Regions from separate parts of the Homo sapiens genome. Here all the other regions are linked to region 3. The links are contacts of gene promoters, found by promoter capture Hi-C in blood cells and fetal thymus (Javierre and others, 2016). All regions are on one chromosome and are shown on one strand. Each heading gives the region's core, a stretch centred on a gene start or on the middle of the fragment in contact. The rest is flanking DNA. Distances are from core to core; before and after follow the strand shown. Region 1 overlaps FBXW11 (F-box and WD repeat domain containing 11). Region 2 overlaps FBXW11 (F-box and WD repeat domain containing 11). Region 3 holds the start of FGF18 (fibroblast growth factor 18).

What was found. The method cuts DNA at HindIII sites, captures the fragments that hold promoters and counts their contacts. A CHiCAGO score of 5 or more calls a contact.
Region 1: a fragment that was not itself captured here is called in contact with the fragment with the promoter of FGF18 in region 3 in 3 of 17 cell types (M2 macrophages, M0 macrophages and M1 macrophages); the score reaches 7.5 in M2 macrophages.
Region 2: a fragment that was not itself captured here is called in contact with the fragment with the promoter of FGF18 in region 3 in 2 of 17 cell types (M2 macrophages and M1 macrophages); the score reaches 6.0 in M2 macrophages.

The regions. Positions count from the first base shown.
Region 1 is chr5:171,934,664-171,937,742 of GRCh38, reverse strand. The region is part of intron 2 of FBXW11 (F-box and WD repeat domain containing 11); the gene reads left to right. Among named protein-coding and RNA genes, the nearest start is that of FBXW11, 70 kb to the left of the region's middle. The HindIII fragment of the contact is 1,380 bases long and covers 925-2,304 here.
Region 2 is chr5:171,957,219-171,960,697 of GRCh38, reverse strand. It overlaps FBXW11 (F-box and WD repeat domain containing 11), which reads left to right. Exons shown (of 14, transcript NM_001378974.1): 2 at 3,000-3,101. Among named protein-coding and RNA genes, the nearest start is that of FBXW11, 48 kb to the left of the region's middle. The HindIII fragment of the contact is 754 bases long and covers 1,337-2,090 here.
Region 3 is chr5:171,417,731-171,421,204 of GRCh38, reverse strand. FGF18 (fibroblast growth factor 18) reads right to left here and starts at 1,558. Exons shown (of 5, transcript NM_003862.3): 1 at 974-1,558; 2 at 762-798. The coding sequence starts at 1,005. RefSeq lists silencers at 1,052-1,131, 1,192-1,241, 1,382-1,491, 1,612-1,721. The HindIII fragment of the contact is 2,658 bases long and covers 336-2,993 here.

The sequences.
Region 1 (3,079 bases), core at 365-2,864, 520 kb before region 3:
GATCCTCTTACCTCAGCCCCCTGTGTAGCTGGGACTACAGGCGTGTGCCACCATGCCTGGCTAATTTTTGTATTTTTTAGTAGAGGCGGGGTTTCACCATGTTGATCAGGCTGGTCTTGAACTCCTGAGCTCAATGATTTTGGCCTCCCAAAATGCTGGGATTACAGGTGTGAGCCACTGTATCCGGCCCCCACTGCGTTTTTATAAATAAAGTTTTATTGGAGCACAGCCACACTCATTCACTTACATATCATCTGTGGCTGCTTTCATCCTATAACAGAAGAGTTGAGTAGTTGTGACAAAATCAGTGAGTCCTGCAAAGCTCAAAATATTTACATCTGACCCTTTACAGAAAAAGCTTGCCAACCCTACTCTGGAGTATTTGTGTATTCATGTGCTATGAAAGTATCTTGCTTTTCAGTAGAGAGGCTTATTTATGGTGTATTTTGATGTCTGGTAGGACTGATTCCCCACTTTTCTTTTTTTGTATTTTTTACTGAATACTCATGTAAGTTTGCTTTTGAATATGAACTTGAGTATCATTTTGTCTAGCTCCATAAAGAATTTTCTTGTGGGGTTATTGGGGAAATGTTAAACTTATAAATTAGGGAGAACTGTCATCTTTCGAATGTTGAGTTCTCTTATCCAACAATAGTTATGAAGAAAAGAATAGAGAAACCTGTCAAAGAATTAAATCAGAAAAATGTATCAGGTCAGTGTGGATTCACAGAGAATTCCACCAGACCTTTAAAGAACAAATGGGCCAGAAGCTCTATAAATTGTTCCATAACATTGATTGAAGGAATTGTTCTTCTTTTTCTAGGAATTGCTTTTAGTTTTATTATCTTTTGATCAGAGGCTCTTATTTTCTAATTTTTCTTTTTTATTGAACTTATTTCTTTGTGATCTAATATATGATAAGCTTTCAGAAATTTTTTACACGTGCTGGAAAAGCAAGTTTAGTCTGTGTAAACAGGTTATCATATCCTGTAAGACCTGCCTGCCTTACTGATGCTTATGAATTTTTATTTTTTGTTTTCTTGAGCTGTCTTGTAGTGAGAGTAGTGTGTATAGTGTATTTATATCCATGTCTCTCTGCATTTCTTTTAGTTTGTTTCTGTTCATGATGTGCTTTCTTTGCTCTTTTATTTTTGAAATTTCTTTTTATAGAGAGGTTTGTATTTTTGTTAGTTTTAATTATAATTTTTGTAATGCCTCTATTTCCTGTTTTTTTTTTTTTTTTTGGTGAGACAGGCTCTCACTATGTTGCCCAGGCTGGAGTGCAGTAGCATGATCATAATTCAGTGTAGCCTCAAACTCCTGGGCTCAAGTGATTGGGGCCGCCCGCCTCAGCCTACCAAGTCACTGGGACTACAGGTGCGGGCTACCACATCTGGCTAATTTTTAAATTTTTTTAAGAGATGGGTCTTGCTGTGTTGCCTAGCTGGTCTTGAACTCCTTGGCTCATGGGATCCTCCCATCTTGCCTTCCCAAAGTGTTGGGATTACAGGCATGAGCTACTGCACCTGGCCTGCAGTTTTAAAGTTGTGTTATTTCTTTGTCTGAATATGACATGTGATTCTTCTGTTATCTTCAGACTTGTTTTATTCTTTTTTTTTTTTTTTTTTTTTTTAGATGGAGTCTAGCTCTGCTGCCCAGGCTAGAGTGCAGTGGCACAATCTTGGCTCACTGCAACCTCTGCCTCCCAGGTTCAAGCAGTTCTCCTATCTCAGCCTCCCGAGTAGCTGGGACTACAGGCACCCGCCACCATGCCTGGCTAATTTTTGTATTTTTAGTAGAGATGGGGGTTCACCATATTGGTCAGGCTTGTCTCGAACTCCTGACCTCAGGTGATCAGCCCGCCTTGGCCTCCCAAAGTGCTGAGATTACAGGTGCGAGCCACAACACCTGGCTCAGACTTGTTTATTCTTAGAGCCATAATTGTTTTAAATGTTTACCATTAATTTTTTTGACAATTTTTTGCATCATCTCAGGATTACTCAAGGAAACCTTTACCCTTTATTTTCTAAAATTTTGGAAGATGCTGCTCCACTGATGCCTTGCTTGGTGTGTTGTTTCGAGAAGTTTGATGCCAATCCAATTAATGCTCTTTCTCTTTAAAGGTTTCTTCTTAAATTAAAAAAAAAATTTGGGGTGGGGATTGAAAACATTTTTTCTTTATTTTTAAAGTCTAACAATTGTCTTAGGATATCTCTTGGAGTTTATTGCTGTGGGCCAGTTTCCCCTATTACCTGGAGCCCCTTTCAACATGTAGTTCAGGTTTCCTTTTATCTCTGGAAAGCTTTTTGAATTATCGTTTTTTTTTCTTTTTAAATAACAGCTTTATTGAGACATAACTCAAATATTGTAAATTTACACATTTAAAGTGTACAATTCAGTGATTTTTAGTATAGTCACAGAGTTGTATAACCAGTGCCACAGTCAGTTTAGAACATTTGTATCACCACCAAAAGAAACACGCTACCGGCTGGGCGCGGTGGCTCACGCCTGTAATCCCAGCACTTTGGGAGGCCGAGGTGGGCAGATCACGAGGTCAGGAGATCAAGACCGTCCTGGCTAACACGGTGAAACCCCGTCTCTACTAAAAATACAAAAACAAAATTAGCCAGGCGTGGTGGCAGGCGCCTGTAGTCCCAGCTGCTCGGGAGTCTGAGGCGGGAGAATAGCATGAACCCAGGAGGCGGAGCTTGCAGTGAGATCAAGCCACAGCACTCCAGCCTGGGCTACAGAGCGAGACTCCGTCTCAAAAACAAAACAAAAAACAAACAAAAAAAACCACTGTACCCTTAGGCTGTCATTCCCTATATCCCTCACCCATCCAACCCTAGGAACCGCTTGGATTATAGTTTTAAAGGTTATTTTTATTTTATTTTTTTCTTTAGAAACTCCAATTATATTTAGGTTGGATCTCCTTTGTTTTCCATGTTAACTACTTTCTCACTGCCCATATTGCTTATTTCTTCATCTCATTTTTATTCTCTTGGGTTGTTTTCTTGCTTGTCTTCAATGTTTCCTAATAATTTTCTATTTTTTTTTTTTTTTTTTGAGACAGGGTCAC
Region 2 (3,479 bases), core at 464-2,963, 540 kb before region 3:
CACCTCTTAATCTAAAATTAGCAGTGCGAGGTTATACTAAATAGTATTTAAAATGCCTTCCTGTTCTCACAATCTGTGATTTTTTGATTTACTGAATGTGAAAAATTGCCTTTTAAAAAGTTTTAGATTCCAACTTATTAGCAGAATCTAATCAATACCTTATGCTTTCATGGTTTTTACCCTTTGAGGCAAATACTATTAACCCTTGCAGAGGGAACCTGACTTTTTACTGAATAAGTAAAAATTGATTTACGTATGAGCTTTGGTGTTAATTTGATATTAGTTGCTGAATCCAGATGTAATCCTTTTTTGTTGTTGTTGTTGAGACAGGATCTCACTCTGTTGCCCAGGCTGGAGTATAGTGCTGCGATCTTGGCTCACTGCAACCTCCACCTTCCAAGCTCAAGCAATCCTCCCACCCCAGCCTTCCGAGCAGCTGGTACTATGGGTGCATACCACCATGCTTGGCTACTTTTGTATTATTTGTAAAGGTGGGGTTTCACCATGTTGCTCAGGCTGGTCTCGAACTCCTGGGCTTAAGTAATCCCACCACCTCGGCCTCCCAAAGTGCTGGGGCTATAGGCGTGAGCCACCTCACCTGGCTAGGTGTAGTCCTTAAACTCTCTTCTTTGCCCATCCACTTGTGATGTATGCTGATGTAAGTATTCTTTTATTAAACATGTGTAAGAATATCTCTGGATAGAGAGTGTTTGTTGTAGTGGAAAGAAAATCAGCTTGTCAGGTTTAATTTACTAGTCCTAATTCTGCCATCAGTTAGCCCTTATTCCCCTGCACCTTGGACAAGTTGCTGGTTTTTTTTCTTTTCTTTTCTTTTCTTTTTTTTTTTTTTGAGGCAGTCTCGCTCAGTCGCTTGGGCTGGAGTGCAGTGGCGTGGTCTTGGCTTACTGCAACCTCTGACTCCCAGGTTCAAGCAATTTTCCTGTCTCAGCCTCCCAAGTAGCTGGGATTACAGGTGTGTGCCACCACACGCCTGGCTAATTTTTGTGTTTTTAGTAGAGACGGGGTTTCACCATGTTGGCCAGGCTTGTCTTCAACTCTTGACCTCAAGTGATCTGACCACCTTGGCTTCCCAAAGTGCTAGGATTATAGGTGTGAGCCACCATTCCTGGTCTGTGTTGCTGTTTTAACAAATCAGGCTCTCCTTTCTGTTTTAATTAAAAAAATTTTTTTCTTAATGGAAAAAAAATTCCATGGGACTCTGCTTGATATCTCTTTCCTGATCATCAGTTTCCTCATCATAAAATGGAATAATACCTATTTTACAGGGTTATTGTGAGAGTTTACTATTTCAGCTGTCTAGCACATAACAGAAGCTTGATAAATGGCAACTACTTTCATTATTTTATTTCATTATTTTATTCAGCACCTTCTGTGGTTGGTACTCTGCAAAGTGTTGAGGCAACAAAATTTGTGTACCTGGAGTTTCAATGATATATTGCCACTGTATTGGCTTTGGAATAAAGGCACACCTTGGAAGTGTGTCATTTTCATTGCTACCAGAAAGCTGCTCAATTTTTTTATTCCATTTGGTTCCTCTGATTTTGTATTCTTTAAATGCCTTTTCTAAGTAATCTCAATATTCCGTGTATCATAGGTGAACTGTAACTAGTAAGTGACAGATACTAGATAGGAACCCAGGTCTCTCTGATTTCAAGCAAAGCTATCTTTGTTTGTATTGCAGTTGGGTGATAATAGAATTTATCCACTAAACCAGAACACTTTTGAGAGTGAAAGTTATGAGGGGACAATAAGTGTCATCCAGGACTATCTCAGGCAAATGAGGGTGTTTGGCTATTCTAATTATAGCTAGAACAAACAAGTTTATGAGCTTGGGTCCAAGACTTCTGGGATGTTTTGGTTGAACCCAAACACTCACCTTTAATTTTTGTTACATGAGTATTGATTTTGCCATAGTAAATTAATTGACTTTATATCTGAATGATTGAACAGTATGGTCTAATGGTTATTAACTTTACAGTATGGTCTAATGGTTATTAAGTAGTAGCCGTAGTACATATGTTCATTTTATATTTTACTTTTTTTCTTAATTCCTTTAAAATCAGCAAGCTTTTAAAAGAGGATCGAAGAGGTAAATTAAATAAGCTTTTTAATTCTTAGTCATGTCAGACGGACTTTGTAAACAAAGTCTAAAATGAAAATCATGACGTTCCAATGTTTTTCCTTTGGGAAGGTGGAGATGTGATGACACTGAAAATCATGCATTTTAAATCACCTCTTTTATTGCCTTTATCTATCAGTCTGTCACCCATCTTTCTTGTTCTTTTTGCCTTATTCTTTAGGTCTCCTGTGATTTTACCTTAGGGAGGTGCAAAACTTTACTCACATGATAAAAGTTGGGGTGATATAAGTTTTCACAATAGCAGCATCATAGTCTTGTGGAAAGAATGTGGGTTTTGGTAGCAGACAAACCAAAGTTTGAAATTCTGGCTCTCCCCTCCTTTGTTGTGTGTCCTTGCGCGAATCACTTAACCTTTGAGCCTCGGTTTCCTTACAATGATATGAGGATTAGAGAACAAATGTAAAGTGCTGGGCAAATAGCACTTTTTGTGGTTTTGTAGGTTCTTAAACAACGATGACAATTATGGTTATGTGACATAGACGAGAAACTGTGGCACTGATGAAATTGTAGTCGACAATCTCACCACTAATCTTGTTTTGCACTCAAACTTTCACAGTTCCCTTTGGTGGGTTTTTGTTTAAACATTCTCTCTGTCCCTCTTGATTCTATTCACTGTACCCTGAGAAATTAGTGGTTGGCAGCAGAAACCTCCTTTCCATAGAACATCAAGTGGGCCCTCCCCCAAGGTTTCAGTGAGCTGTCTGGGACCATCCCTAACCTCCAAACTGCCAAGGGTGCACCCCCTGCCCCAACTAACATTCAAGTTGCCTGTGTGAAGGAGTGATTTGTTGCGGCCTCTAACTGCTTCTTCTCTTCCTTCCTTTTTGTCATCCTGCAGTGTTCTGTGCCAAGGTCTTTGTGGCTAGGCTGCGCCAACCTGGTAGAGAGCATGTGCGCACTGAGTTGCCTGCAGAGCATGCCCAGTGTCAGATGTCTCCAGGTGCCTCTCTTCTTTCTTGTTGTAAATGTGTTTTTACGTATGCCATGAACATTTGTTGAAACTTGCAGTAGTGTGTTTAATCCAATGTTAAGTCTGCTAAATGTTCTGTGTAACCCTCTGCTTTCCTCCAGCCTGGGTGCCCCACATGGAGGAGTTAGTACCAAGAGGGGCCCTTTTGAGCAAACGGGTCTTTGGCTGGGCCCTGTCCTCCCCTTTTCTGCTCCTGCTTTTTACTCTTTTCCCCTCACCTTGAGGTTGTAATTCTCATGTTTAATAGTTGCGCATGTGCCAAAAAAAACTCCTGACATTTTCCATTTGGCTACCTTTAACAGTTCTTTGTTGAGTTGGGAGGGTTTCATAATTAAAGTGGTGATTTTT
Region 3 (3,474 bases), core at 309-2,808:
TTCCAACTGTCTGCGTGCCAAGACCTTCCCGAGTCTGAAAGCTGCTGAAGTAACAGATCAGATTTTAGCAAGTGCTTTCCAGGCCGAGCGCCAAGCCCTCTTCTGATTCACGGAGAGCGAGCGAACCGGGAGCAGGCGGGGAACCAACGAGGGCTGCACCACCTTAGGCGAGGGAGTGCGGAGCGCGGCCCATCCGGGAGCGGCCTCGCGGGCAGCGGCCACTCGGCCTAGGCGCCCTCGAGCTTCCCCTCGTCCCGGGCATGTGTGTGTGTCTGTGTGTGTGTCTCAGTGCTGCAAGCGCCTTCAAAACCACAGAGTAATTTACAACTGAAGCTTTCTCCCTGGACTCGAAATCCACTCGGCTGAAAGTCTTTTTGTTTGGAAGCGGCGATGTTAAGGGAAGGTTGGCAGAGAAAATCCCTAGGTCCTACCCCTCGCTGGCTGCGGGCAGGGGTCTTAGAGCTGGGTATATTGTTGCGGCTGAGCCCGCCGGCTCTGCGGGATCTCCTCCCAGCCGAGGCCGACAGTGGCCGCGACAGCCAGCGCCTCCTCGGGCCCCGCGGCAGAGCCCCTTGCCCTTGGCCGGTTCCCCGCCGGCGCAGGGCGCACGCGGAGCCGCCCTTCCGCGCCCTGGGAACAGGTGCACTGGGCTCAGCGCCCAGGAGGGGTGGGGCACAGGGAGGGGGCGCGGCCGGGGAAGGGGGGTCGGCGTGTACCGCGAGGCAGGGGCGGGAGGAGGTCAAAGTCAGGAGCCCACGTACCTGTACCTGGAAGCACAGCAGCAGGAAGTGTAAACACCTGCGGGAAACAGATGGAGAAGCGGTCAGTGGGACCTGAGGAAGGGGGCGCACGGACAGACAGACACGCAGTCGAAGAGTCAGGTGAACCGACGGGCGGGCAGACAGAGGTACAGGGCACAGGCATACGGACAGACAGCCAGGCAAGGTGGGCAGCCCCGCGCGCGGGCGCTTACAGGCAAGTGCAGGCGGAGGGCGCTGAATACATCGCTGGGCGGGAGGGAGGCGGCGGCTCCTAGCCCAGCCTGCACATGTCCGCTCCGCGCGGCCGGGACCGGGCGCCTCCGCCGCCGCCGCCGCCGCCGCCGCCGCTGCTGCTGCTCCCTCCTCGCCGGCTGCTGCTGCTGCAGACTCTGCTGCTCCGGGGCGCTCCGCGGCGCGCCCTGCGGCATCAGCGCCCCGCGCGGCTCCTCCCGAGCGCTGCGCCCTCCGGGCTGGCGCAGGGGCTGCGGGGCGGCAGCCGCTGTGCAGGAGGCGCCTGGCCGGTGCGGGGAAGCTCGCTCACTGCTGGCCGGCCGGCCGTCCGGGCGTCCGTGGGAGGCTGGCTGCCCGGCTCAGTCCGGGGACAGCATGCGCGGCGGGTCTGGAAGCCGAGTTGCGCTCTCCGGCCCGGGCGCGGAGCTGCGTGGGGCCAGGGGTCAGCGCTCCGGGGTCGGGGCGCGCGGCTGCAGCGCGAAAGCGTCACGGCCGCTCCGTCTGGGCGCCCGCCGGCTCATGTCTCCTCCTCCGCGTCTCTCCGGCCGTGCGCATCGCCGCCTCCCACCACTGGCGGCGGCCGGGGCGTTTTCTACGCGCGGGCGGCGAGGGGGCGGGGGGCCGGGGGCGGGCCCGGGCCCGAGCCGGCACAATGAGGATGCGGGGCCTGGGGGCTCCCCCCTCGGGGCGCGGCCGGACGGGCGCTCAGCTCGCCTGGGTGCGCCCAGCCCACATCAAAGGCGGCCCTGCCTGCTCGCCTGCCTGCCGCGGCCTCTCGCTGCCTCCTCCTCCTTCTCCTGGCGGCTCGGGGTTGGAGGGGAGGCGCTCAGACTCTCGGAGACGGGACCGGCAGCTCCAAAGGGGCAGGACCCGCGAGACTGAAGCTGGTGAGCGCTGGAAGCCGTCGGAGCTCTGCGCCCGAGCGCAGTGACCGCTCCTCCGCGCAAACGTTGCCCAAATTGGGCAGGCGATGCTCCCCAAGAACGCAGTTAGGTACGGAACGTCCTCACCTGCCCACATTCGCTACTCGCACTCACTCACCAGCGCTCTAGTGGAGAGCCGAGAGGGGCGGGTCAAACCCAGCCCCGGGGCGGCTCCACTGAATGGGGGTCGCTTTTACCCGCCCTGCGATCGTGGAGTTTCCCAGCCACCCTCTTGACTGGCTACCCACTTAAGTGAGCCCCCGTCCTCTTCTTACGTCCCTGCCGCTGCGAAGGGGGCTCCCGGGCATCTCTCCTTCCCACCCCTCGCCCCCTCCGGGGCTCTGGGGTCGGTTCACGGGATCCCAGCTGGACTCTCCCGTAGGCGAGCCAGCTTTGGAAACACACGGCTACCACCAAGCGGCCCCGAGACGTCACTGCAACCCCAGCACGGACGGCTGCACGCCGGGGAGCAGCCAGCAGGACTCTGGTCAGCGACCACGCTGAGGCCCTCTTCCGGCCTCCTCCCAAAACCGGACTAAGACTTGCCTCCGTTTGCATACTAGGCAGCTTCGTTCCTTTAACCAGGGCCCCATTCAGGACACTGGTTCTTACCGCCTCTGCCCCTTCCAGAGGCATAACTCCTGTCCTTCCCACCAACCCCAAAACGTAGGTGTTCTTGTCACGTACCTGCCTCACTGTCTAGAGCTGGTGTCAGCCAAGCTCTGCTTGAGCCTGATGCTAAGGAAAATAGGTCACAGTGAGAAAGACGCTGGAGGACAGGCTCAAGCAAAACTCAGGAATCTGGACTATTTGGTTAAAGCCTCCTTGCGTTGGCAATGGTTGATGGTCCACTGGAGCATAAACTGAGGTAGGACTGTCGAACAGTGCTATTTGCTGAAGCCATGACTATAAAACATTAGTAATTGTTCCAAATATCAGGCCTCCTTGCAAGCTATTTTAAGTTCCCTTTCAAAGCTGAGGCTATTTTAAACAGATAGCCTCTGTTTCAACATCGGACACAAGTGCAGAAAACCTTTTCAAAACCAGGTGCTGAGGGGGAAAATTCCTGCATGAAGCTTTTAAGCTGAATTTACTTAGACATTCTGATTGCCAGAGCTGGACTTGCAGAGTTACTCGTAACTTCCCAAGTTCTGGAGAAAATGAATCGATCCCAAGATAGGATGCAATGACCAACCATAAATAGAAATGGACAGAAATGCTCCCACCGATGACCCGAGTCATTGCCGCCGTCTTTGATCTTGCTTTATAGGAAGATTGACAAACCCAGTCGAGGAGTTTTTGGCTTACCATCTGCTAGTTTGAAGTATCTCCTGGCTAAGAATCATGCTTCCAATTTTCTATATTGTTACTATTTTTTATTACTTGTGAATGGAATGGGTATATAATTATTTATACCCTATCTAAAATGCTTGCAGTATTTTTCAATGCTCAAAGTATATTTGCCAATCTCACCTACCAAACAAATCAGACTGACCAAAAAGTCCAGCCAAGAGAACAGTTCTGAGTAAGAGCATAAACTCAGGAGTCAGAAGTACTGC